5 separate regions of the Homo sapiens genome follow, and all the other regions are linked to region 1. The links are contacts of gene promoters, found by promoter capture Hi-C in blood cells and fetal thymus (Javierre and others, 2016). All regions are on one chromosome and are shown on one strand. Each heading gives the region's core, a stretch centred on a gene start or on the middle of the fragment in contact. The rest is flanking DNA. Distances are from core to core; before and after follow the strand shown. Region 1 holds the start of CAP1 (cyclase associated actin cytoskeleton regulatory protein 1). Region 2 overlaps SMAP2 (small ArfGAP2). Region 3 overlaps SMAP2 (small ArfGAP2). Region 4 holds the start of SMAP2 (small ArfGAP2). Region 5 has its middle 21 kb from the start of COL9A2.

Evidence for each region. The method cuts DNA at HindIII sites, captures the fragments that hold promoters and counts their contacts. A CHiCAGO score of 5 or more calls a contact.
Region 2: a contact is called between a fragment that was not itself captured here and the fragment with the promoter of CAP1 in region 1, in 2 of 17 cell types (neutrophils and monocytes). The highest score is 8.0, in neutrophils.
Region 3: a fragment that was not itself captured here is called in contact with the fragment with the promoter of CAP1 in region 1 in 1 of 17 cell types (M0 macrophages); the score reaches 5.1 in M0 macrophages.
Region 4: a contact is called between a fragment that was not itself captured here and the fragment with the promoter of CAP1 in region 1, in 2 of 17 cell types (non-activated CD4 T cells and neutrophils). The highest score is 5.2, in non-activated CD4 T cells.
Region 5: a contact is called between a fragment that was not itself captured here and the fragment with the promoter of CAP1 in region 1, in 1 of 17 cell types (neutrophils). The highest score is 5.5, in neutrophils.

The regions. Positions count from the first base shown.
Region 1 is chr1:40,038,773-40,043,845 of GRCh38, forward strand. CAP1 (cyclase associated actin cytoskeleton regulatory protein 1) reads left to right here and starts at 1,957. Exons shown (of 13, transcript NM_006367.4): 1 at 1,957-2,029. LOC105378669 (a long non-coding RNA gene) reads right to left here and starts at 1,674. Exons shown (of 3, transcript XR_001738013.3): 1 at 119-1,674. RefSeq lists enhancers at 975-1,608, 1,577-1,646, 1,609-2,243, 1,897-2,096, 2,167-2,256. The HindIII fragment of the contact is 17,502 bases long and covers 1-5,073 here.
Region 2 is chr1:40,418,624-40,423,696 of GRCh38, forward strand. It overlaps SMAP2 (small ArfGAP2), which reads left to right. Exons shown (of 10, transcript NM_022733.3): 10 at 3,353-4,699. The coding sequence ends at 3,478. Among named protein-coding and RNA genes, the nearest start is that of ZFP69B-DT, 29 kb to the right of the region's middle. The HindIII fragment of the contact is 3,318 bases long and covers 543-3,860 here.
Region 3 is chr1:40,389,956-40,395,028 of GRCh38, forward strand. All of the region lies in intron 1 of SMAP2 (small ArfGAP2), which reads left to right. Among named protein-coding and RNA genes, the nearest start is that of SMAP2, 19 kb to the left of the region's middle. The HindIII fragment of the contact is 3,918 bases long and covers 288-4,205 here.
Region 4 is chr1:40,371,556-40,376,628 of GRCh38, forward strand. SMAP2 (small ArfGAP2) reads left to right here and starts at 2,172. Exons shown (of 10, transcript NM_022733.3): 1 at 2,172-2,668. The coding sequence starts at 2,566. RefSeq lists silencers at 1,915-2,234, 2,305-2,444 and an enhancer at 2,430-2,929. The HindIII fragment of the contact is 857 bases long and covers 2,750-3,606 here.
Region 5 is chr1:40,335,829-40,340,901 of GRCh38, forward strand. No RefSeq gene overlaps it. Among named protein-coding and RNA genes, the nearest start is that of COL9A2, 21 kb to the left of the region's middle. The HindIII fragment of the contact is 1,730 bases long and covers 2,279-4,008 here.

The DNA.
Region 1 (5,073 bases), core at 707-3,206:
AGGGCAGGGGTTGTAACTTAAGTCGTGTGTGCATTCTTTATAATGAAGCATTTTACAAAGTGGTTTCACATACATTACTGCTTCCGTTTCTCATTACAGCCCCATTAATATTCCCCACCTGATGAGGAAACTTTCTTCATTCTCCTTCCTGCTTCCTCTTCTCTCTCCTCTTCCTCTAGAATGCGTGTATGGTCTATGTTCCTTCTGTCTCTAATCCAGAAAGAGATTTAGAATAACTAAATGCAGAGTCAAAGATTATGTCCAAATAAAGTTAGAGTTTGTGTGTGTGTGAGACAGTGTTTTTAGTTAAATGTCAATATTTAAAATATACTATGACTTTTATACCATATTTTTTCATGTTGTCATGTTCTTTTAAACATGCTGGGAGCCATAAAGTTAGGAAGAGGCCCAGTAACCCGTCCAAAGTAACCTGACCAAAGTCTGACCCCTAGTAGAGGGCCTATGCCAGCACTGGAACCCAGTGTCTCCAGATCCAGAGGCATTCACCACCTCAAATCTGCCTCAAATGTCTGCAGTATGGTCTATCACAGGGGCTAATTAAGCTCATGGGATTTAGAGTCAGACAGATGTGTTTCCTTCAAAGTTTCAACAGTTACTTTCTGACCTTGGCAAGTTATTCAGCTTCCTCATTTGAAAACTAGAGGGCATAATGGTACCTACCACCGAGAGTTGCTATTAGGAGTAAATGAAAATACGCTTGAAGAACTCAGCATGGGCCTGGCAAGTAGTCAGCGTGCAGTAAATGGTAGCTGTTATTTTAAGAACTTTATTTGTTGAATGATTGACTCTGGCACATAACGCCTGCATTCAACTTGAAACACGGAGCTGTCACAGTCGTTCAGCTGAAGGGGCGGGAACTGTGGCACTTGCCAATTTTTTCTAGAAATAAATCTTTGTGGGAGGATAATGACCGGTTGGAGAGTGTGAGTCTTGAGGGAACAAAGATCGGATCTCCCGGCCCAAGGAGTACGGAAGCGAAGCCTCCCCTGCGCGCGGCAGCCACCGTGCGTAACCTCCCCTGAACCGAGTAGCAGCCGCCTGAGCCCACCCAGCCCTGGGCGAGGCTGCCTCAGAAGCCGGATTTCAGCAGAGTGGGTGCAGGATCTGCTTTAATTCTGCTCATCTTATTCTCGGGGACCACACCCTGCGCGCCGGGAGGAAGGGCTCCAAAACCACAGGGCGGAGGCTTCCGCGCGGCCCCAGACTTGACCATCTATGGTCACAGAACACACCGACCAAACAGGAAGTGGGGTGAGAGCGGAGGGTTCCCTACCTTCCCAGCCCCGCGACTGCCAGCCGGGCTGGGGCTGACCCACCGCGCCCTCACTGACCCCCACGCCCTGCGCCCAGTCTCCGCAAGTCCTCCCACAACAATGTCCAGACTAATTGCCTTCCCACGTCACAAACGGGGAAACCGAGGTATGCACGCCCAGAGACAGGCGGAGCGTGGCCTCGATCACCACCGAGAGCTGACGGCCGCCCGGATTCCCGCCCTCAGAGAATCCTGGCCCCCAGTCGTTCCAAGACCCTTTACGGACTGCAGCTTAAAGGAACCGGCCTCTGCCATTGAGACCAAACTGACAGAGGAACTGGTCACTCTTCTGTTCTTTCCAGAGAGGAGCTTAGCCAGGGACTTCTGCCCTTCCTGGGCCCGGGCCTCGGGGGCGATTCCGGGTAGGTAAAGCGGAACGAGGGCGTGGCCTCTCTTGTGAGCCCGCCCTCCCCGTGTCGCTCCCGCCTTGAGGGCGGGGCTCTTTCCCAAGTGCCCTCTGTGAGAGCCGGGCCGCTCTCTCCGGGGCGTGGCGAAGAGGGGCGGAGTCACGAGCGGGGCGGTGAGACTTCCTGCCCAGTCGCGGGCCAGCCTAGCGCTTCAGCCGGCGGCTCATTTCCGGTGGGGGCGCCGCGCCCAGTGAGGGCCCGGAAGTGGGTCGCGCGGAGATTGCTGGGCGGTTCTTGCCGGAAGCGGAGAGCGGCTGATCGCAGTCCGGAGGTGAGGCGGAACTCTGAGGTGAGGGTGTGCAGCTTGGTAGGGATTGGGGTCCCTTCCGGGGCCCATCGGCCCCTGGTGGTGTTAATGGCCCTTCTGGCCTACGCGCGTGTCATGAACCCTGCCGAGAGGGCCGGGGCTGAGGCCCTCAGGCCGACCCGGACTCTTGGGCGCGGTCTCTTGAGGTGGGGCCGGGGTGAGCAGCTGAGTCCGGGTGCCCCGGGGAGGCCCCTCTGCCCGATTTCGCAGCGCTGCCCATCAGCTTCAGCGGAGGCCTGATTCCTGAGGTGCTCTGACTGGAAGGAACCTCCGAGATCGGAGAGTCTTCCCTGTCTCCTGTTGATGCTCCCATTGCACTGATAGGTAAATTGATCCCTAGAGAAGAGGCTAGTCTGAGATATATAGCGAGTGAGGAAAAGAATCGGAATCATGATCCTGGTGCCTTAGATAACCAGCCCCAGTTCTTCCCGTGTTGCTCGGAACCTCTCTAACTTGGGATGGTCTTCCGGTCGGTGTTGCCCCGCAGGCTGCTGCAGGTTAAAGGCCAGCGCTGCGTGGAACTTTTTTTTTTCTCTCCTCCCAAATTGAGCCGTTTGAAATGCCTAGGGAGTTTTTAAAAGAAAGGCGGGCACATCCTTGTATTTACAGGCAGATATCCTCCCTTTCCTCCTCGGCTGCTGCTCTTACTTTGACAAGCCAGGCTAACATTGAAGGTATGTACTTCTGGACCTGAAATCAGACGGCTCAGGTTTGGTCTGGCCTCAGTGCTGAGTGTCTGTGGCCATAGGTGCCTTAAACTTCTTTCAGCCTCCTTTTGTTCATCTTTTAAGTGGAGATCTCTGCTGACCCCACAAGATTAAATTCAGCGTAACAAATTGTGTTTATTCTGTGCCAGCATTTTCCCAGATGCGGGGAATGCAGCTTTAAAACAAAACAATGTAGACCCTGCCCGCGTGGAGCTAGCAGTGTTTGCAGGGATGTTTAAGAAGTAATTATAAATGTTGATGAGTGTTAGGAAAGAACAGGGTGCTCTGAAAGTATGTAACAGGGGGTTCAGGAAAAGCCCTTCTGAAGAAGCAGAGTTTTTAAGATGAATTTTGAAGGATAAATAGGAATGCGTTCGAAGAGTGGAATGAGAACATTTGAGACAGGTTAGCATCAGAACTGTGTCAGTTGAAGCTCTTTGTGGGGCTCTCTCTTCAAGAGAAAATCCGGGGGCATATCAGCACATTTATCATTTACCAGACTTTTATTTAATTTATTTATTTGTATTTTTAGTAGAGATGGGGTTTCGCCGTGAAGGCCAGGCTGCTCTCGAACTCCTAACCTCAGGTGATCCCCCCACCTCGGCCTCCCAAAGTGCTGGGATTACGGGCATGATCCACCGTGCCCGGCCCCACCAGACGTTTATTAAGACCTTAATATGTATGAGGCACATTTTAATGAGATAGCCTTTGTGGCAAAGAATACAGTTCTTCTGGAGTTTACAGTGGGAGAGGAAATAGACAAGTAAATGAGGGATGGCTTACAGTGTCATAGTGCATAGCACAGGGCTACAAGAGCACAGTGGAGAAATACCTGAGCCAGGTGCCCAGGGTTCCAGGAGGAAATGGGAGGCTAACTCTTGAAATATTTATTTAGCTACATAGGGAATCCGGAAAAGGGATTTCCAGGCAGAGACTACTACAGGTGCAAGGACCTGGAGAACCGGACAGCTGAAAGACCATGACGAGTTCAGTGTGACTGGAATTCTAGTAATGGCTGGGGAAGTGGAGGAAGTGAGATGTGGTCAGGTCAGTCATATGTGGAGGACATTGTAAGTCATGCTAAGGAATTTGGATTTTTACCCTGAAAGCTATGGAGATGCTTTGAAGGGTTTTATGCAGGAAAATGATGTCGTCAGATTTATATTTCAGAAAGTTCATTCTGTCAAGTAGGAGGGGACCAGCCCTGTGGGGAAGTAAAACAGTGTTTGGAAGCTCTTGCTGTAGACATGGCCTGAACTAAGACAGTGGAAATGGGAATGGAGAGGAGGCATCAGATGTGAGCAATATTAAGAAGATAGAATCCATAGAATTGGAGGCTGATTATGGGAATGAAGAGGTAAGAATAGCGCGATTGCCTGGCTTTCTGGCTTAGGGAACTGAATGGGTAGTACCATTCAGATAGAGAGTATGAGAGGTAAATTAGGGAAGTGACATGGGAAAAAATGCATTTTGAATGTTTTTAGTTTGAGGTGTTTGTAGCACATCCAGGCAAAGATGTCTAATAAGGTGGGTCAGCTAAAGGAAAGAGCAAGAGTAAAGATACGGAGGCAGGAGAGGGCCTAAATTGTTCAGTGATACTGGGGCCTGGAGTTTTGCAGAAGACCAGACTGCAAAAAAGGTTAGATGTCGGCCAAGTTGTGAAGGGCTTTTTGTTTGTTTGTTTGTTTTGAGACGGAGTCTTGCTCTGTTGCCCAGGCTGGTGTGCAGTGGCACAATCTCGGGTCACTGAAACCTCCACCTCCCAGGTTCAAGGAATTCTCCTGCCTCAGCCTCCTGAGAAACTGGGATTACAGGCGTGCGCCACCACGCCCGGCTAATTTTTGTATTTTTAGTAGAGACGGGATTTTACCATGCTGGCCAGGCTGGTTTCGAACTCCTGACCTCGTGATCCGCCTGCCTCGCCCTCCCAAAGTGTTGTGATTACAGGTGTGAGCCTCCGCACCCGGCGTGAAGGGCTTTTAATGCCTTGTTGAATTTGTTTGGATTTGATTTTGTGGGTGGCAGTTTGCTAATTGATTTGCCCAGGTCCAGCATAAAGAAATTTCTGGGCTGGGCACAGTGACTCACGCCTGTAATCCTGACACTTTGGGAGGCTGAGGTGGGCAAATCACTTGAGATCAGGAGTTCAAGACCATCCTAGCCAACATGGTGAAACACCATCACTACTAAAAATACAAAAATTAGCTGGGCGTGGTTGTGCATGCCTGTAGTCCCAGCTACTTGGGAGGCTGAGGCAGGAGACTCGCTTGAACCCGGGAGGCGGAGGTTGCAGTGAGCTGAGATTGCACTGCTGCACTC
Region 2 (5,073 bases), core at 952-3,451, 380 kb after region 1:
TGTTTAGGGGTCCAACCTTTTCCATACCTCCTACCCACAAAAATCTGTTACTTAGAACAAACAAAAAATACCCAGGTTGACATCAGACTTCCTAGCAGCAAAATACAAAAAGAATAACAAGGAGAGTAGTATTTTAAAGACACTCAAGTGTATGCAAGACACAACAAGTATTTTACAACCAAGCCAGCCAAGCTATCCTTCAGGTATCAAGGCTGTAAAAAATAAATATGCAAGAACTCAGAGAATATCACACTTACAAGACTTTCCTGGGGAATCTAACAGAAGATAAGCTTCATCCACCTAAGAGATGACTGGGGTCATTTTCATTTTTGGCAAAAGAACTGATGGTGAGAATTGAATGTTTAATTGAGAATCTAAGACTAAAACAAAGGTGGTGACAAGCGTTGCAGAATATACATTATATTCTGACAAACAAATACAACTGAAAATGAAGGAGGAGGGAGAAAAGTTGAATAATAAATATTGTATGGGAAAGAAGTAGAAATCGAAGGATGCAATAAGCTGACAAACCAAATCACGGAAGCTTGAATAAGGAAAAAGGAGACCAAGGACATTGCTAAAAAGTATTACTATGAAGGTAATCACTAGAACAAACACGTGAAATGTTCTGAATACCAAGATAATTTTCTTCCTTTCTTTTTTTTTTTTTTTTTTGAGACAAAGTCTCACTCTGTCACCCAGGCTGGAATGCAGTGGCACAATCTCGGCTCACTGCAACCTCCGCCTCCTGGGTTCAAGTGATTCTTCTGCGTCAGCCTCCCGAGTAGCTGGGATTACAGGCACCCGCCACCACACCCGGTTAATTTTTTTTGTATTTTTTAGTAGAGACGGGGTTTCACCATGTTGGCCAGGCTAGTCTCAAACTCCTGACCTCAGGTGATCCACCCACCTTGGCCTCCCAAAGTGCTGGGATTACAGGCATGAGCCACTGCGCCCAGCTGAGAATTTTTAAAAACAGACTACAAAGTGCAGCAAATACAATAAACACAGTAAAAATCTAATATGATGGAGTTGAGACCAAACATACCAGTCATACCAGTAGGCAACTCTTCTATCAAAAGAAAATGATGTTCAAATTGGCTAACAAAGCAACACTAGTTTTGCACTAGGTACAAAGAAATACAAAGTGATTTAATGTGAAAACCAAGAGACAGGCAAAGGAACCCCAGAGAGGTGGTATGGTGCATGTGTACTGCACATGTGCATGTATAGCTATCTTTATCAGGGTTATACTTATTTATAAGAAGTACTTTTATGTTTTTGTTTCTCTGTGGTCCAGAATAATTTATGTAGCTCTGGTCTTTGAAGGTTTTGTGGAATTCCCATGTGAAGTTTGTGGGCACTATTGCTTTTTTTGTAGCAAATCTTTGATACTTTTCTCTGTTTCTTCTATGGAAGTCAATTTTGGAAAACTGTATTTACCTAGATTTTCCATTTCGCCAAGGTTTTCAAATTTATCAAAAGTTATGCCTAGCAGTCTCATTAATTTTTTTCAAAGAACCAGGATTTCGATTTATTGGTGCTACATTTTTCCGTTTTCTACCTCAATTTCCGTAGGCTTTCTATGGGTTTACTTTGTTATTTTCTAGCTTTCATAGTGGAGATTTTAATTCACTTATTTTCATTGTTTCGTTTTTATTTATATAAGTAATGGAATGCTATAAGTCTGATGGGAATATGTCAGAGGGACGCATGAGCCAACTTCCAGTGGCTCTGACTGGCCAAATGTGAGACAATTTGAACATCAAAAAGAGTAACAACAGTAATGGATTATGACACACTGAATGGAAAAAACAAAACAAAACCATGAGTCCACGGTGATATTTTTTAAAAACCAGGTGTGGAATGGAGGGAGGAAAAGCCTTCTTTACAGAAGAATGACAGTAGTTGTAAAAAGAGCAAAGGATTGACACATTTGCAAAGAAATGCCCTTCAGATTATTTATTAATTATAATGAAAGAAATATAGTCACTACCTCAGCCAAGTGATCAAACATAAAATTACTGACAGAGGAACAAAGTAATGTCATATGCTTCCTGATATTTTGTACTAAGAAAGACATGTGTCACCTCCATAGAATCTTGCCAAAAATATTGAACCTCGATCCAATTATGAGAAAACATGAGATGAATCCAAATTGAGGGGTATGCTACAAAATAACTGTCCTGGGTTCTTAAAAATGTCAGTGTCAGGAAGAAATGGAAGGAAGTGTTAGGGAAACTGGTCTAGCTTAAAGGAGACTACAGAGATCTGAAAATGAAATGCCATGTACATTAGAATATGGTGTTAATGTTAAAATTCTTGAGCGTGTTCATTGTTTTGTGGTTCTGTTAAAGTGTTCATTCTTATGAGGTGCCTCCTGACTTAGGAATGAAATGTCGTGATAGCTGCAGCTTTTTTTTTTTTTTAATCTGCAACTTTTGATACTCATCAAAAAAATGTAAGTTTTTTTATAGGGAGGGAGAGAAAATATGGCAAATGTTAACAGTTGGTGAATTTAAGGAAGAAGATACATGGGTTTTATTGTACTATTGTTTCAACTTTTATGTCAGTTTGAAATTTACTTTAAAAGTTGGTACAAGAAAATAATAGTTTCTCCTAAAGAAAAATAACTTATATAGAAAATTTACTAGGCTTAGGAAATTCAAGGCATTTTTCTCCATAAAGTATTTTTCTGTTCACTGCTAGGGGCCAGTCTTTCCATCAGATTCATGAAGGACCCCCGCCCCATCCTGCCCCAGGCCTTATTCCACTGACTGTTTTCTCCCAGCTCCTTCCCTTCTTATACACTGAAGACACATTAGTCTTCCCCCGCCCCCGCCCCGCCACCGCCTTTGTTCATTCTGAACAGTCCAGTTCCTTTTTTTCCCCCTTGTGCAAACGAGCAAGCCTGCTCAAGCGCTTTCCCTGACACTGACAGTAATAGCTGTGCTGAAGATGAGGCGGGAGCACTGGGGAGGGGGCTTTCCTTTCAGCTTTTAGGATTGGCCAGGCAAGTTAACAATAGGCCCCTTCTATTTAGGATGAGGGACTGGAAAGGAAAAAGAGAGGAACTCATGCTGATTTTCTGTCGACTAGATCCAGATGCCAGGATGCCTTCTTTCCCTCCCTGAGCTTTAGTCTCCGTCAGCATTGCACTCCCAAAAGGTCATTCACGTACGTGGCCTTGAAATGATCTGACTGCTAAGGTCCAGGGTTTACTGTCCATAACAGAGTTTCCCTTTGTCTCATTCTCCCCATCCTGGCAGAGAAAGGGACTCTCACCCTGCCTTTTGCACTAATTGGCGGAATGCCCACAGCCTGGTCTGAAAGTCTCCTCTCTCCCTTTCAGATGACCCAGCAGATGGCTGGGATGAACTTCTATGGAGCCAATGGCATGATGAACTATGGACAGTCAATGAGTGGCGGAAATGGACAGGCAGCAAATCAGACTCTCAGTCCTCAGATGTGGAAATAAAAACAAAACACCTGTATGGCTGCCATTCTCTTCAGCCCTCGCTCTCCCCTTTCCACAGCCTCCACCCCTGACCCCCATCCTCTTTTCCTACCTCTCTGTTTGGTTTAGAAATTGCTCAATAAGTCATTTGGGGTTTGGCATCCTGCCCAGCCACTTCCCAAACATGAAGACCTCTCTGTTGCTTTATGTTGTACATGCCCCATAGCCATCCCAACGTCCTCCCCAGTCCTCTCCTGGCACCAGCACCTTAGAAGTTGTTGGCAGAAGGCACTTAAACTGTGGGAGAAGTGTGCACACCTTTGAGTCCCTTCCCTCAAGGTTAAAGCTCCTGTCAGACTCTCAGAAGGGTCTGTGGGTGTTGTATATTAGGCAAACAGGGGAAAGCTTAGAGGTCCTTCTATATGTGTTAATAAGCTGTTTCTAAGTGTTTAAATTTGAAAAGCATCATGTTCTCATGATTTATGGGAATGAAGCAAGTACTGAAATCAAATTAAATACTCCCTGGGTCCTGGGTCAGTTTGACCCTAGCCCTGGGGTGAGGCAAGCCCCCTCCTATGAGGATGAGCAAAAATACTACTCTCTTCGCCCTGAGTTGCTTTCTGGATCTGGGGCTTCAGGACTTGCTGCTTCAGTCAGCCTTTATTAGCACCAAAGACTTTATGAAGATCCCACACACAGACACACATCCCTTCCCGCCTCCCCCCTGCCTTCAGTAGGATCTGGCTCCGTGGCTGGAGGACCAACCCCTATAGTGGGAATGCAGAGCTTAACGTGTACTGCTTGTGTGTGTGCGTGAGTGTGTGTGTGTGTATGAGTGTGTGTTCCGCCTCCCACCCTCTCCCCATCTGCTCTGGGTATTTTTGTTTTTGTTTAGTTTTAGGTTTACAACAGAGAGGAATTAATTTATCAGCAGCCTAAAACTGTTGTGTTTTTCTTATGGTTTAAAAAACGCCATGTCATTGATAACTCCCTTTCTCCCTTCCCTTCTCCCGGTCTGCTGATCACTCTTTCATGCCTGTGTATCCAGGGTGCTCTGTTTCCCCACCGTTCCCAGGTGTACGAGGCAGAGGGCCGGGACAGCTTTCCTCTCAGTCATTGTTCACCCCACTTGAAAATTCAGACAAGAAAACTTTGCTTAAAAGATTTCATGTGTGGGAACCACAGTTCCTGGCTGCCTTTCTCCTGTGTATGTGTAAATTCCTTAATAAATATTGCAGGGAAGGACTGTTTGCTTGGCCATTACTGTGCGTCACTCTTGGAGGAGGGTGCGTTACACTTAGGTTTTCTGTTTTCCAAAGGCAATTGTTTCACTTCCTGTATTTTAGAAAATTCTGTACTTCTCATACCCAAGGGTGAGGCCCAGGCTCCAGCAGTCAGAAAGGGGGCCTCTCTCCACTGGCATCTAGAGCTGTGAGCTGAGAGAACTCCAGAGATCAGCACCTTCTAGAGTCACAGAGCATCAGAGCGGCATGCTTTCCCCCCACAGGTGGAGAAACTGAGACACGGAGAAAGGACATGGTTGGCAAATGTCCACTAGAGAACCCTGGGCAGAACCGGCAGTAGCCTCCAAGTGTCTGGATTTCCAGCCCCTTGTT
Region 3 (5,073 bases), core at 997-3,496, 350 kb after region 1:
GCCTAATGTTCCCTTTGCAGGATCTTTGTACTCACATGGCTGGTATCTTTGCCCCACCCCCTTATGCCATATATTTTGACCTCATTGTGTTCTATTCTGAAACGCCTGGGTTTTGAAACATCGTGGTGAATGTTTTCTTTTTCAAAGGGCAAATCTCCATCTTTTGCTCTCCTCCCTTAAGCCAGGGCTGTTTTGATGACTGATATTCTGCACACCACTGGACTAACCAACCATCTGTACTTTGATCCCAGAATTCATTTTGATTCTGCTGTTTGTTTAGAACTGAAAGCTTTCTAGCTTGTTTGGATGTGGTTGTGATTCAGTGAAACTGGCACTGATTTTCCATCTGTTTGCCATTGGTTGGGACTTCTCCAATGTGTTAGGAAAGCTGCTGTGCTGAGTTGCGAAGAGAAATTCACATGTCCATGGTCTTGCACAAGGGCTCATTTGCTCACTTAGAAGGTTTTATGTAGAGCCTCTGCCTGGGTGAAAGACATGAGCTTCCCTGGAAACAATTGAAAAACATCTTCTGCCTGGCCACTCAGTCTTGAGCTCTAGTAGGTTACACTGTTTTTCCCTTCTGGGCTTCTTTTTGAGGAAGGGGAGTGTGGATGGGAAGAAATCTTCACAATCAGTCTCAGATTCCCAGCAGCAGAGAGTGAATTGTATGTTGTAATAATAAAAAAAAGAATACCTAAAGAACAAGATATCAATTTAGTGACCATTATTGAGCATTTACTATGTATAACACACATTTGGGTGTGTAAAGGTGATTCTAATTTCAGTCCAGCTGATCCTTTCTTCTGTGAACTTGGGCAAATGACTTGACCTCTCTAGGCCTTAGTTTCTCCAACTGTGCTTAGACTAGATCATTCCTAAGGTTTGTTACAATTTTAGAATTTTGTACTCTAAACGTGTATCTGTTTGTTACAGAACAAGAGAGGCTTTTCCACAAAATTGACATATTCTTATGTCTCACTTCAAACTAAATGGCTTAAAAATGGTTCCTCTAGAGCAGGATTTCTCAACCTCAGACTATTGACATTTTGGGTGATTCCTTGTTGTGGGCACTGTCCAGGGCATTTTAGAATGTTTAGGAGCCAGCATTCCTGTCCTCTGCCCACTAGATGCCAGTAGCTCTTCCCTACCCCTCTGCCCGTTGTGACAACCAAAAATGTCTCTAGACATCAGCATTGCCCCTTGAGGGGAAATCGTTTCTGTTGGGAGCCATTGGTCTAGAGGAACAAAGATGGGACTATTTGAATATGGGCTGTTTTTAATATCAGTTTTCATGTTATTCCACTATTGCTTATTACCTGTTTAATCAGTAAGCATGCATTAAGTGTATACTATACACAGATGAATGCCGACGCTTGATTATGAGGGACTTTAATGACCATGTCAAGTTTTCAAATGTTGAGTCCACCTGGCCAACTTTGAAATGATTGCCCAGCTGTTAGCGCAGCAGTCCCTACACGCCTACACCCACCAGCCTGCTATTAGCCTTGGTCAGGGTAATGATTGAAATGTATGAAAGCATTCACTCACAAAGGCTATCAGATAGCAACCTAGGAAGGCCCTGGGATTGTGAGTTATGGATCGGGACTGGGTCTTGTGCATCCAGAATCTAGTATTATGATAGTTATCCCTTCAGCTTCCTAGGGGAAAAAAATTCCTCGTCAAAGTGGTGGGGTGAGGAATCTATCCTAGGGATGGAGGATGAAGAGCAATCTCATTGGACAATGACCATATCACCCTTTTTAGTAGCTTCTTCTAAACATAGGCCCTTTCCCTCCCGCAGTGGGCAGGCTCACTTTGCAGCTTTAGTTTTTTGTTTTGTTTTGTTTTGTTTTTGTTTTTAAATATATGAGTAGATACTGGTTGTTGCAAAGAGGAAGTTAAACTGAAGTAACCTAAAAATGTAAAGAACTGAATGTCCCCAGGAGATGAAGACAGTAACTTGAGAACCAAGTTTGCTTATATTACCTGAAGTGAGGTCACTAGGAAATTGGTTTAATTATAGTATCAAGTTTTGAAATATCAGGTCCACCTGGCTGACTTTGAAATGATTTGCCCAGCTATTAGCTCAGCAGTCCCTCCCTGCACACCAACTCCACCCAGCCTATTGTTAGCCATTGAAGTGGTGATTGAAATGCATTAGATTGCCCAAGAAATCTAATCTTTGGACTTGCTACATTTGCTATAAAATATCAGTTTAGGTTTAATAACTTTGAATTTGCTCCCAGTACCCCCAGATTTTCTCATCTGTTTTAAATTCACATTCTGCACTTGGTCGGGTGCAGAATGGTGCTTCTCGCTGATTGGGGTAGAGTGTGTTCTGTGAGCATCTTTGCTGGGATGCTCTGGGATTCCAAAGCCATGATTCAGACACTTAAGCCTGTGTCAGTCCCTATCCTTAGGTCCTGGCAGGCTCCGTGTTCCATTCCAGCTGAGCCTTTGCTGGAGTAATTACCCACATGGAGTCTTCAAGCCAAACAATTGTTTGTACTGAGATAGTCTCACTGTTTGGCTCCTAATGAAATAATCTCTTTCCTGCCCTCAATGAAAGCAGCTATTTTTTGTGTCCTCCCTCCCCTATTCAGAGAAGCCATGTCTCATCCACCACTCTTCCAGCTTATTCATAAATGCTTTAAGCAGGGTCTTTGTGTAAAGGAAATTGGCTGGAGCTGAAATATCATAGGCTAACCAGGAGACAAGGAGCATTAAGGACACCCTTTTCCTTGACTTTCTATTTAGGGTATTTAAATTACCTTTCTGTGATTTTCTGTAATAAGCAATCTAAAACTTAAATCCACATAAGCAAAATAGTCATACTAGGTTTTTAAAAAGTATACTAAATTAGGCCGGGCTCAGTGGCTCATGCCTGTAATCGCAGCACGTTGGGAGGCCGAGGCAGGTGCATCACTAGGTCAGGAGATCGAGACCATCCTGACTAACATGGTGAAACCCCGCTGTCTCTACTAAAGACACAAAAAATTAGCCAGGCGTGGTGGCATGCACCTGTAGTCCCAGGTATTCGGGAAGCTGAGGCAGGGGAATAGCTTGAACCCGGGAGGCGGAGGTTGCAGTGAGCCAAGATCACACCACTGCACTCCAGCCTGGGTGACAGAGCGTGAATCCATCTCAAAAAAAAAAAAAGTATACTAAATTAGTATAATTTTATTGTTGTTGTTACCTAAAGGAGCTCTCAAAAATAAAAGCTGGCCAGGCGTGGTAGCACATGCCTGTAGTCCCAGCTACTCAAGAAGCTGAGGTGGGAGGATTGCTTGAGCATAGGAGATTGAGGCTGCACTGCACTCTAGCTTGGGCAACAAAGCAACAAACCCTATCTTAGAAGAACAAACAAAAAACCCAACAACAGAACAACCACAAATGAGTGAGTGCAGCAGGAGAGGCAGCAGAGCGCCGTGGGAGTTGGAATAGGAAGGAGAAAAGGCTTCATGGGGAAAGTGGGCAGAGCAAGATTTGCACAAAAAGATGTTTTGCAAATAGAGGAAATAGGCCCTGTAAAGCTATTTGTGAGAGACTGTAAGTTGATCAACAAAGTGTAAGTAGTTCTTCTAACTTTTTTTTTTTTTTTTTTTTTTGTGACAGAGTCTTGCTCTGTCGCCCAGGCTGGAGTACAGTGGCTCAATCTTGGCTCACTGCAACCTCCACCTCCCAGGTTCAAGCGATTCCCCTGCCTCAGCCTCCTGAATAGTTAGTATTACAGGCGTGAGCCACAATGCCTGGCTAATTTTTGTATTTTTAGTAGAGATGGGGTTTCAGCATGTTGGCCAGGCTGGTCTTGAACCCCTGACCTCAGGTGATCCACCGGCCTTAGCATCCCAAAGTGCTGGGATTAAGGCGTGAGGCACCGCGCCCGGCCACTTCTAACCTTTTTAAGGAGTATTTGCGTGAACAGAATCAATGAGTTTCTTCAAATTAACTTCTGACAATAATCTAAATGGTCTCCATTTTCTGATTCACCCTTTTTTCCAATTCCAAGTTGCCATTATCCATGTAATTGGCTCTAAAGAGAGCAAGGAAATCTATCTTCTCCAGGAGTTTCAGTCATAGATTTTTAGCTGGCTCTCTTTATCATTTGCAACTGAGTTCATTCATATGCTTGTTTTCAAGAATTTTTTCCTTTAGTTCCAGAACTCTTTGCTTCCATCCTATGGTTTCTTGGGAGGACAGTTCTAAGCTTTCTTAAGATAAGTGTTTCAATCACACCATCTACCATTTCCCTCAGAAGTTGTTCTCCTCTTATGCGGTGTGTTTAGGTGTTTGGGGCGCCAATCACTAGGGATTGGAAGGATTTTGATGAATCTTCAAGTAACCATGTCTTGAAGGTTAGCCATCATCAGTTCACTCCATGAAATGAAAACTTACGGGGATCCACTTTTGCTCTTTTTTGAAGAAGTCTATTGTCCTCAAAGGAAGAGGTGGACCTGTTCAGATTTTTAAGTTTTATCTTATTCAGTGTTTGTAGCATCAAGGGACTGGCCTCTAACGGAAGCAACTGGGGGCTTCATTGGCTTATGCAATCAGTCTCATCTCACTGACTTTACAAGGTTCTTCAATACTGGCAGAAAATCTCTTGGCTAGCTCTTTCTCCCTCCTTAAAATATGTTGGCTCTTTACTATAAAAACAATCATAGCAGCACATACCAGAATCTCCTAGGGAAACCCCCAAAGACTTGGGCCTTGTCTCAGCTCTCAGACACTACCACCAAGAGCACTGCATAGCTTTCCCAGGACCAACTGGAAAGAATTCTTTTTTACGACGATGTAATTGACAATGAAAATTGTATATGTTTACAGTATACAATGTGGTGTTTTGATATATGTGTACATTGATTTTTGTGGCAGTCAGGAGGTCCTCTAGTTGGAACAGAGACTCACCACACCCAAGAGTCCCTCTGTCTGTATCCCATCCCCAAATCAGAAAAAGGCCTGTGCGTCTCTGTGGGTAGTATTCACTCTCTCAGATTCCTCTGTGAGTCAGGAACATGACAAGTGGCATCTATATACACAGTTTTAAGAGGAAGTGATGTCACTCTTGGTGTA
Region 4 (5,073 bases), core at 1,928-4,427, 330 kb after region 1:
CAACCAACATCTTCAGCATCAATAGTTGCCATGCCAGAGGGAAAGAGAAGCACAAGAGGCTCAAAGCAACAAATAAATGCTTCAGAGACAAAGTAATCCATCCTTTCTGCTCAAACTCATTGGTCTTTCCCAATCACTTGAAGGCCAGGAAATAAAATCCTACCATGTGCTCAGAAGGCAAAACGCCAGAAATATTTAGTGAAGAGCGCTAATTGTCTATCATTCACTATCTACCAAGGGCTGTTCTAATTATATTACAGGCATTATCTCAGCTAAGCCTCATAATAATCTTGTGAAATAGGTACTATTAATGTTATCATCATTCCCATTCTATAGATGAAATAACTGAGGCACCAAGAGGCTAAGTAACCTGCTCAAAGTCACACAGATAATAGGTGGTAAAAGCTGAAGATTTAAACTTAAGCATTCTTGCCCCAGAGTCTGTGTGCTTAACCACAAAGCCATGAGATCTCTCACTAGGTGGGAACAATTTGAGAAACACTGCCATAGGCAATGGAGAGCCACTAAAGGATTTTTTAAGCAGGAAGTGTGAGTCCATCAGAATTGGCATTTAAAAGCTCCCTCTAGAGAGCACGGTGAAGGATTAATTTAACCAGATTTAGACTAAGGCAGGAAGGCTATTTGCAGAGTGAGGAGATGAAGATGGGGAGGGCTTGAACTAAGGTACAATCACCACTCACCGCAATTAACTGGGTTTTGTTGTTGTTGTTGTTGTTTGAGACAGGGTAACGGGGTACATTGGGGGTTGGAGGGGTGGTTCTTACTGTGTTGCCCAGGCTGGATTCCAACTCCTGGGCTCAAGTGATGCTCTGGCTCTGGCATCCTGAGTAGCTAGGACTACAGGTATGTGCCACCACACCCAGTAACTAGTTAATCTTGACTGTCTATTTCAACTGAAAAATGGTTATGGTAATACCTACTTGGATGGGTTTTCTGAGGAAAAACACCCCAATGAACTTGTGTGTTTTTAAAAGTCAAGTCCCCTAGGCATGGCTAGAAGGGAAGAGGCTTAGCCAGAAAATTTAATTGTTGTGATTAATAAAGTAATAGAAATGTTTAGTTTTCCTCTGATGAGATGAAAGCTTTGAGGGGATCCTGGTCTTGGGAGAAAGTAAAGAAATGGAGGAGAGGGTTTCACCAGAGTTTAGATAACTCTTAGCATCTGCTTACTATCTTCCCTGATTAATTATTTCCATGGCAGCCAGAGTGACCTTTTAAAACCACAAATCGGATCATGCTGTTTCCCTCTCCCCTAGTACAGTGCCTGATACTTAGAAATTTCTCAGTAACATCGTGCTCAGTGAATGAATGAATGAATGAGTGAATGAAAACACAAGCCAGATGGCAGGTGGATCCCTAAGGAAAAGGACAGCCAATGAGAAATTATCTGTAGCAACGGTGGCTTTGGATGATGATGTTTAATAATCATTTTTAAGGAGTTGCCTGTTGTGTGCTATGCTTTAATCACTGTCCCCCACCCTTCCCAAATAACGTTCAGTAAAAGTCTGCCACAAAAAACTCGCTGTTTTGTGAGAATTTAAGAAATGGAAGAAGAAACAAACTGTCTGGGCACCAGGCCAAACAATATCCAAAAAGGCAGGAGTCACAGAGGAGAGCTAATGAGTATTAGTGGGAGCAGGTATTCCAAGTGAGAGGTGACCAGAGTCCTCTGAAAATGTGGGGAGGGGGTGACGTTCCTATATCCTGGGTTAGGGGCTTGGACTCTTATATTTGGCTGTTGGAAAAAACAAGCTGGAGGACTTTGGGGTATCAACAACCCTCAGGTTACATAAGGATGATCATAGGGTCGTTGTGAGGATTATGTTGGGATAGTTCATGCAAAGCGCTTAACACAGTGCCTAGCGCATAGTAAGAGCTCAGTAAATGTTAGTTGTTGTCTTCCTTCACTTTCTTCCATTCCCTCCACTCCCTTTCTACCAGGCTCCATTCATTCTCTTCCAAGGACACGCAGGGGGCGTGCCCACCCCTTCCCTCCGCCCCCACCCAAGGCCCGCCCCCCGCTTCTCCACGGATTGGTTCCCGAGAGGCGGAGCTGAAGGAAGAGCCCAGTGCGGCGCGGTGGGGGCGGGGCGCATGCGCGAGCTGGGCAGGGTGGAGGTGGGGAGGAAGAGCTGCCGGAAGTAGGCGGTGGAGGTGGTAGCGGAGCTGACGGCAGCTGCCAGGGAAACCGAGGCGCGGGACGCAAGGCCAGCAGACAGGCCGGCCAGAGGGTCATCTGCGTCCGGCACCCAGGAGGCTCGTGGTCCGCCTTTGCCTGGGCTGAGGGTCTCTGGCCCCGCAGCCTCTCTTGGAGGCGGGCCTGTCCCTAAGCCCGCCAAGGGGCGCCGCGCCGAGGGGCTGCGGAGTGGGGGACGGACGCCCCCGACCCGGGAAGGGGCGTCCGGCGGGGCCGGAGGAGAGGGCTCTCCCCGCTCAGGAGGTGCCCCTGGGCGGGGGACCGGGAGTCCTCAACCCCGGACTGAGGCAGGGGTCTCTGGGGGCGAGGAGGGCGCGTCGCCCTCTGCCCCCGCCGGCACCCTGGCCATGACAGGCAAGTCGGTGAAGGACGTGGATCGGTACCAGGCTGTCCTGGCCAACCTGCTGCTGGAGGAGGATAACAAGTTTTGTGCAGATTGCCAGTCTAAAGGTAGCGCATCCCACCTGGCGGGCCAGGGGTCCAGCCGCGCCGGGGTGGTGGGGGTGGGCTGCGTGAAGAGGCGGTTTCTGAAGCTTAGGCCGCCCAACTCGGCTTATAAGTGGTAACGCGTGCTGCGCTTGCAGTGAGCCTACTGGGCTTTCTGCAGCTGGGGGATTGGTATGGGTAGAGCTTGCGAGGGCGAGTCTGTGTGTGTCGGGGAGGGTGGAGGTGATGGTGCGGGTGGAAGTTGCCTGGCGTGTTCAGGTGAGAATGTCTGTATTTGAGGGCTCTGAATGAGTTCTGGGCCGGCTGTCCAGAGAGAGCTCCCAGCATGTCACTTGCAAAGCTGGGGATGAACTGCATTGCGTGCGTGCGTGCGTGCGTGTGTGTGTGTGTGTGTGTGTGTGTGTGAGAGAGAGAGAGAGAGAATGACGAGGAGGAGGAGGAGGGAAGTGAGATGGCGGAAAGGAAAACTGCTTAAATGATTTTTAAAGGTGGTGATTTTTGCTTCCTGCTATTTGGTTAGCAACTCCTGTCATTTTGCAGCCTTGCTAAGATCTGACAAGAGTGCTTAGGTGACTTTATTCTTCTGGATGTGTGCAGTGGGAAACTGCCTTATGCAGTGACACAGTGCGGATTTCTAGGCAGTGTAGCCCTGGCTTGTAGAGTGCGTTGGAGGCCTATGTATGAGTGGTGGCAGAAACTAGCCGATTATGCCTGTAGTGCAGGATCCGTTTAATCAGTGGAGAGAGAAAGATGAATTCGATGAATTCATTGCTTCCATGGCGATTACACTTCTAAAGGTGAAATATGATCATTGTAAATTGGCAGAACCATTTAGTCTTTGTTTTCTGTGCCCTAGAAGATTCATGATTTGATACAATTAAAAGTCAGTACAATAGGAAATCTTGGTTATTAGTGAAATGTTGGCACTTGACATTTATACAAGCTTCTATGAATCTTTTTTTCCTGTATTTTCTAATTCTTTTGGCATATAATTGGAGGATTGGGAAAATTATTTTCCCTTTGGTTGGGTCGAAATGGATAGTTATATTTTGGGGGCGACAATTTACTTTTGTTCATAATGCAGTGGATTTGCCATGGTTGTTTGCCGTACAGCGTAGTGGGCATATACTATAAAACAAAGATTCAGTTATATTCGTATTTATCTATTTTGAGAAAGGAAGGACATATTTAATTGATGCTTTCACTTAATTACCTTTTATTTTTGAAGAATAAGGTTATAAAAGGAGAACAGGGGAGGGATACATAGACACCTAGTAATGTATTTTAGTGACCTCTACCAACAGATAAATGGAATGTGCCATTAGGAAAACAAATTCCTAGACTTCTTTCCTGAATTTTTGCATTAGCAATAATTCATTTTAAAAAGTATTTTAGAATCAATTTATGTTGAGTAGGTTAGCTTCTTGATTCTTGTTACATCTTCTGTTAGGTCTATTGGAAGATTTGGTTTATTTTAGGAGTGTATCTTGGCTTTATTCAAATTCCCTTATGTCCTCATTTGACAGATCTTGAGTCACAGTGAAGCAACCCACTGGAGTGAGCATTGCTGCATTTGGAGAGTCAGATGCCATTTTGGTGACTAGAACCCCCCCCCCCATTTCTCATATTACCCTTATACTTACTCATATTCCAATAAAATACAGCACATGGAAGAGAGAGGCTGATTCACTACTTCTTCCTCCAAATTTCCATTGCTTTTTATTTATTTTATTTTTTATTTTTATTTTTTGAGACAGTTTCGCTTTGTCGCCCAGGCTGGAGTGCAATGGTGCAATCTCGGCTCACTGCAACCTCTGCCTCCCGGGTTCAAGTGATTCTCCTGCCTCAGCCTCCCGAGTACCTGGGATTACAGGCGCCCGCCACCATGCCCAGCTGATTTTTGTATTTTTAGTAGAGACAGGGTTTCACCATGTTGGCCAGGCTGGTCTTGAACTCCTGACCTCAGGTGATCCACCCGCCTCAGCCTTCCAAAGTGCTGGGATTACAGGTGTGAGCCACCATGCCCAGCCCGAAATTTCCGTTGCTTTTTATTAATAAGCTTACTGGGGATCAGGTTATGAAATATCAGTTAATTCTTAATGAGAACTAGTAACTGCTGGCTTGTAAACTTTATTAACTACTGTTGATGGTAGAATCCTGGATCCTCAATTTCTTTTCAGAAGTTCGTTTTACATTTTACCAGGTGGCTTCAGGGACTTGGTCATTGTATTAAAAATGAGATGACAATGGGTCAGTCATCTTTAGATTATGACAAATAGGCATTTGTTGAGGCCTCTGTTTATCCAATTTATGAATTACCTATCCCATTCCACCCCTCCAAGCCCTCTCACTCTTTTTCCCCTGCTGTTTTCTAATTTTGGTTGTCATAATGATCATTTGGACAACTA
Region 5 (5,073 bases), core at 1,894-4,393, 300 kb after region 1:
TTTCTTCCTCTTTCCCTTTCTTCTTTCCAAAGTATTTACCGAACACTTTCTCTGTTATCTAGGCACTGTTCTGTTTAATATAGAAGGTGCAATTATCCTCAGCAAACTCCTGTTGATCCTTAAAGACACCACATCCAGAAAGTCTCTCCAGGATCAACAAGCTGGATTAACACAGAGAACATGAGTGAAAACTATTTTTATTTTTTTATCCTACAAATATTTGTTGAGGACGTTATGTGTCAGGCCTGTAGTGTGAGAAGATAATTAAATGATGTCATCATGAAGGCAGCAGCTAAGAACTACCATTTATTATTATTATTATTATTATTATTATTATTATTATTATTTTCATTATTTGGAACCAAATCTCACTCTGTTGCCCAGGCTGGAGGGCAATGGCACGATCTCAGCTCACTGCAACCTCGGTCTCCTGGGTTCAAGCGATTCTCTGCCTTAGCTTCCCAAGTAGCTGGGACTACAGGCCTGCACCACTACGCCTGGATAATTTTTGTATTTTTAGTAGAGATGGGGTTTCACCATGTTGGCCAGGCTGGTCTTGAACTCCTGATCTCAGGTGATCCACCCGCCTCGGCCTCCCAAAGTGTTGGGATTAGAAGCGTGAGCCACTGCGCCCGGCCGAGAACTACCACTTATTATTAATGGTGATCATTAATTTTTTTTTTTTGAGACGGTGTCTTGCTTTTGTTGCCCAGGCTGGAGTGCAATGGCACGATCTCGGCTCACTGCAACCTCTGCCTCCCGGGTTCAAGCGATTCTCCTGCCTCAGCCTCCCGAGTATCTGGGACTACAGCTGTGTGCCACCAAGCCCAGCTAATTTTTTGTATTTTTAGTAGTGATGGAGTTTCATCCTGTTAGCCAGGATGATCTGGATCCTCTGACCTCGTGATCTGCCTGCCTCGGCCTCCCAAAGTGCTGGGATTACAAGTGTGAACCTCACCCAGCCTATCTTCAGAACTTCTATCAGATTATTTTGAAGGTGTGTGAACATATTTTTATTTGTTTGTTAAACCTTGAAGGTGGATTGGATTTGAGAAATAGCTACTAGTTGTTCAAGACCAAGTTGGGTGAAAGATAATGGGTCAGAAATTATAATCTGGTAGTCCTCAATTTTCTTTGATTTGCTTATAATGTTTTTTGAGATGGAGTCTCACTCTGTTGCCCAGGCTGGAGTGCAGTGGTGTGATCTCGGCTCACTGCAACCTCTGCCTCCTGGGTTCAAGCAATTCTCCTGCCACAGCCTCCAGAGTAGCTGGAATTACAGGCACCCGCCACCATGCCTGGCTAATTTTTTTGTATTTTTCATAGAGACAGGGTTTCACCATGTTGGCCAGGCTGGTCTCGAACTCCTGAACTCAGGTGATCCTCCCGCCTCAGCCTCCCAAAGTTTTGGGATTACAGGCGTGAGCCACCACGCCCAGCAGTGACTGTTAATTTTGTGTACTGATTTTACGTGTCATCTTGACTGGACTAAGGGATATTAGCTGGTAGAACATTATTTCTGGGTGTGCCTTTGAGGGTGTTTCTGGAAGAGTTAACGTTTGAATCAGTAGACTGAGAGCAAAGAAGATCCACCTTCATCTATGTGAGTGGGCAGCATCCAGTCCATTGAGGGCTTGAATAAAAAGGCAGAGGAAGGGTGAATTCTCTCTGTCCTTGAGCTGGGACATCTATTTTCTCCTCCCCTTGGACATCGGAGCTCCTGGTTCTTGAACCGGTTTCCCTCCCCAACCCCACTCTCAGGCCTTCCACTGGGGACTAAATTACGCTACCGGCTTTCCTGGTTCTCAGCTTGCAGACAGTTTATCATTGGACTTCTTGGCCTTTGTAATCGCATGAGCCAACGCCCGTAATAAATTTCCTCTTACGTTATCTATATATATCCTATTGGTTCTGTTTCTCTGGAGAATCCTGACAAATACAACAATAATGCTTATCATTTAAATATTTATATTATCATAATTATTGTGTTTATAACAATATTTATTAAGCACTTGCTATATGACAGATATTGTATCAGTGTGGTACATGCATTTTGTCTTTAACTCCTCACAACCGCTCAACGAGGTAGGTCCCTTGATTATCCTCATTTTATTTATTTATTTATTTTTAATAGAGAAGAGGTCTCACTATGTTGTCCAGGCTGGTCTTGAACTCCTGGGCTCAAGCGATCCTCCCACCTTGGCCTCCCAAAGTGCTGGGATTACAGGCGTGAGCCACTGTGCTGGGCCTATCCTCATTTTATTTACAAGAAGACTGAAGCTTAGAGGTGTGAAGTGATTTCCCCAAGGACACACACCTGTTTTCCCACAGTTTCTAGCTCTGGATAGGTCTCAGTAACATACATTTTCCCCACTTTCCACTACAGCCACAGCATAGGGTTGTGCATTTTAGGATCTGCACAAAAAGGGAGGACAGAGGAGTGGGGCTGAGACCCAGCCTGGAGATGTTTGCCGCAATATTTTATTTTGCTGGTTCTAGCTTTCTTAGAGAACTCTTAGGATCTTCTGTTTGACTTGAGCCCTGGGCTGCTCCAGTTTACACTCCTCAGATCTCTAAATTTATTTATTTATTTATTTATTTTTTGAGACCAGCTCTGACTGTTGCCCAGGCTGGGGTGCAGTGGCGCCATCTCGACTCAGTGCAACCTCTGCCTCGTGGGTTCAAACCTCAGCTCCTGCCTCAGCCTCCTGAGCAGCTGGGATTATAGATGTGCACCACCACGCCCGGCTAATTTTTGTATTTTTAGTAGAGACGGGGTTTCACCCTGTTGGCCAGGCTGATCTCGAACTCCAGGCCTCATGTGATCCACCTGCCTCTGCCTCCCAAAGTGTTGGGATTACCGGCGTGAGCCACGACGCCCGGCCAAATCTCTAATTTCTAACCTTCCAATCTTCCAGTCGTTTCTTCCCACCTCCGATAGGAAGGAGAGGTGGGCTGCAGGGCAGGAAGAAAAGGCCCAGCTCCCTTCCCCACCAGTTGCTCCTTTAGACCGACTCCAGGTGAGCAGTAAATCAGGCTGGCTGGTGCTCTGGCGGCACCTAGTGGTCCTCTGCGGCAGCACACCATGATGACAGCTTGACAAGACGAATTAAAAGCCCCTTTCTCCAGGAGCTGCTAGCGAGATGAAACGGGCATAGAGGCAGATAAAGCACTGTGGGAACCCAGCGAGGGAGCAGTCGTGGTTTCTGGGGAGTTAGAACTTAGAATTTGGATTCAGCTAGACTTGGATCCTGGTTCTACCACATACTGACTGTGACCTTGGGCAAGTCATTTCATCTCTTTAAGCCTCAGTTTCCTCATTTGTGAGATGGGGAGAATAGTGTCTCTTGATGACCATGAAGTACTTAGCACAGTGCCCAGAACGCTTTGGATATTTGTTTTCGGCAGAAGGGAACTTCGTTTTGTTTGTTTGAGATGTAGTTTCGCTCTTTCGCCCAGGCTGGAGTGCAGTGTCGCAATGTCTGCTCACTGCAACCTCTGCCTTCCGGTTTCAAGCGATTCTTCTGCCTCAGCCTCCCAAGTAGCTGGGAATACAGGCGCCCGCCACCACACCCGGTTAATTGGCAGAAGGAACTTTGTAAGAAAGGCAGGGAGTGGGATGAATGTTCAGAAAACAGAGTAGGTGACAGATGATCCCCCTTCCCTGCTAGAGAAGAGCAAACACAGCTGGTCAGTCCCGTGGAGCAAGTTGGGGCAGGGGCTGAGTCTCTTAATTACAGCACAGTGAGACGACCTAGAACCCCTTCCTGGAAACAGCTGCCCATTCTGGGCTGAGCCAGAGTGCTAAACAGGTTTGCTCACCTGGCCTCTGGCTGCCCTCTTATGCCTGGCAGAAAATACCAACCATCAGCTTCCCACAGGTGCTTCTCTCTCCAGCTAGAACAGAGCAACTCCAAACTCCTCAGAATTGCCAATCCTGACCCTGGTTTCATCTGACCTCCCACTTGTTCCATCTGATTCCTTCCCAGTGCTGGTCCAACACTGATAAGCTTTAGTGTCCGCTTACATGAACTACACTCTCCTGGCTTTCCTCCTACCTCTCCAGCTGTTCTTTCTCAGGCCCCTTGCAGATTTCTTTTCTCTGCACACCCTTACTTAGCACTCTACAAGGTCCTGTCCTATCTTCTTATTCTTTATACTCTTCCTGGGCCATCTTATCCATCGGGTTGACTTTAACTGCTGCCTATATGTTTTCCTGAGTCTCAGACCTGCTTATCCAACTGCTTCTCAGATGTTCCACAGGCACCACCAAACTGACATGTCCCAAATGAAATTATCTTCTTGCCCACAAACCTGTTCCTCTTCCTGTGTGGCCTACACAGCCAGTGGTCCCACCCTCTGCCCTATTGCATAAGCCAAAACTATGGATGTCATCCTGGAGAAGAGACTTCCCTCTCTCCTCCCCGAGAAATATTATCGCCTTGTCCCAGTGACTATACCTCATAGGTGTTTAATCCATCCACCTCTCTCCATCCCCACTGCACCTACCTTATTCAGCATACCATCCTCTTTTGCTTGGGGGTATTGCAACTGCCTCTTATTTTAACTCCTTGCTTCCAGTTTTGCTCCATTGTTTTTCCTCTGTGTTCCTTTCTGGAGGCTCAAGGAGATAACTCATTGCCCAGCCTTTCCCACCTTCTAGAGGCTTCCCACATTTCTTGGTTTCCCCTTCCTCCATCTTCAAAACCAACAAAGTTACATCTTACTGACCATACTATAGTAAAATCTCCCTGTGCTTCTCTCTTCTGTCTTCCCCTTCCACTTTTTTTTTTTTTTTTGATGGAGTTTCACTCTTGTTGCCCAGGCTGAAGTACAATGGTGTGATCTCGCCTCACTGCAACCTCCGCCTCCCAGGTTCAAGTGATTCCCCTGCCTCAGCCTCCTGAGTAGCTGGGATTACAGGTGCTTGCCACCACGTCTGGATAATTTTGTATTTTTAGTAGAGACGGGGTTTCACCGTGTTGGCCAAGCTGGTCTTGAACTCCTGACCTCAAGTGATCTGCCTGCGTCAGCCTCCCAAAGTGCTGGGACTACAGGCATGAGCCACCACGC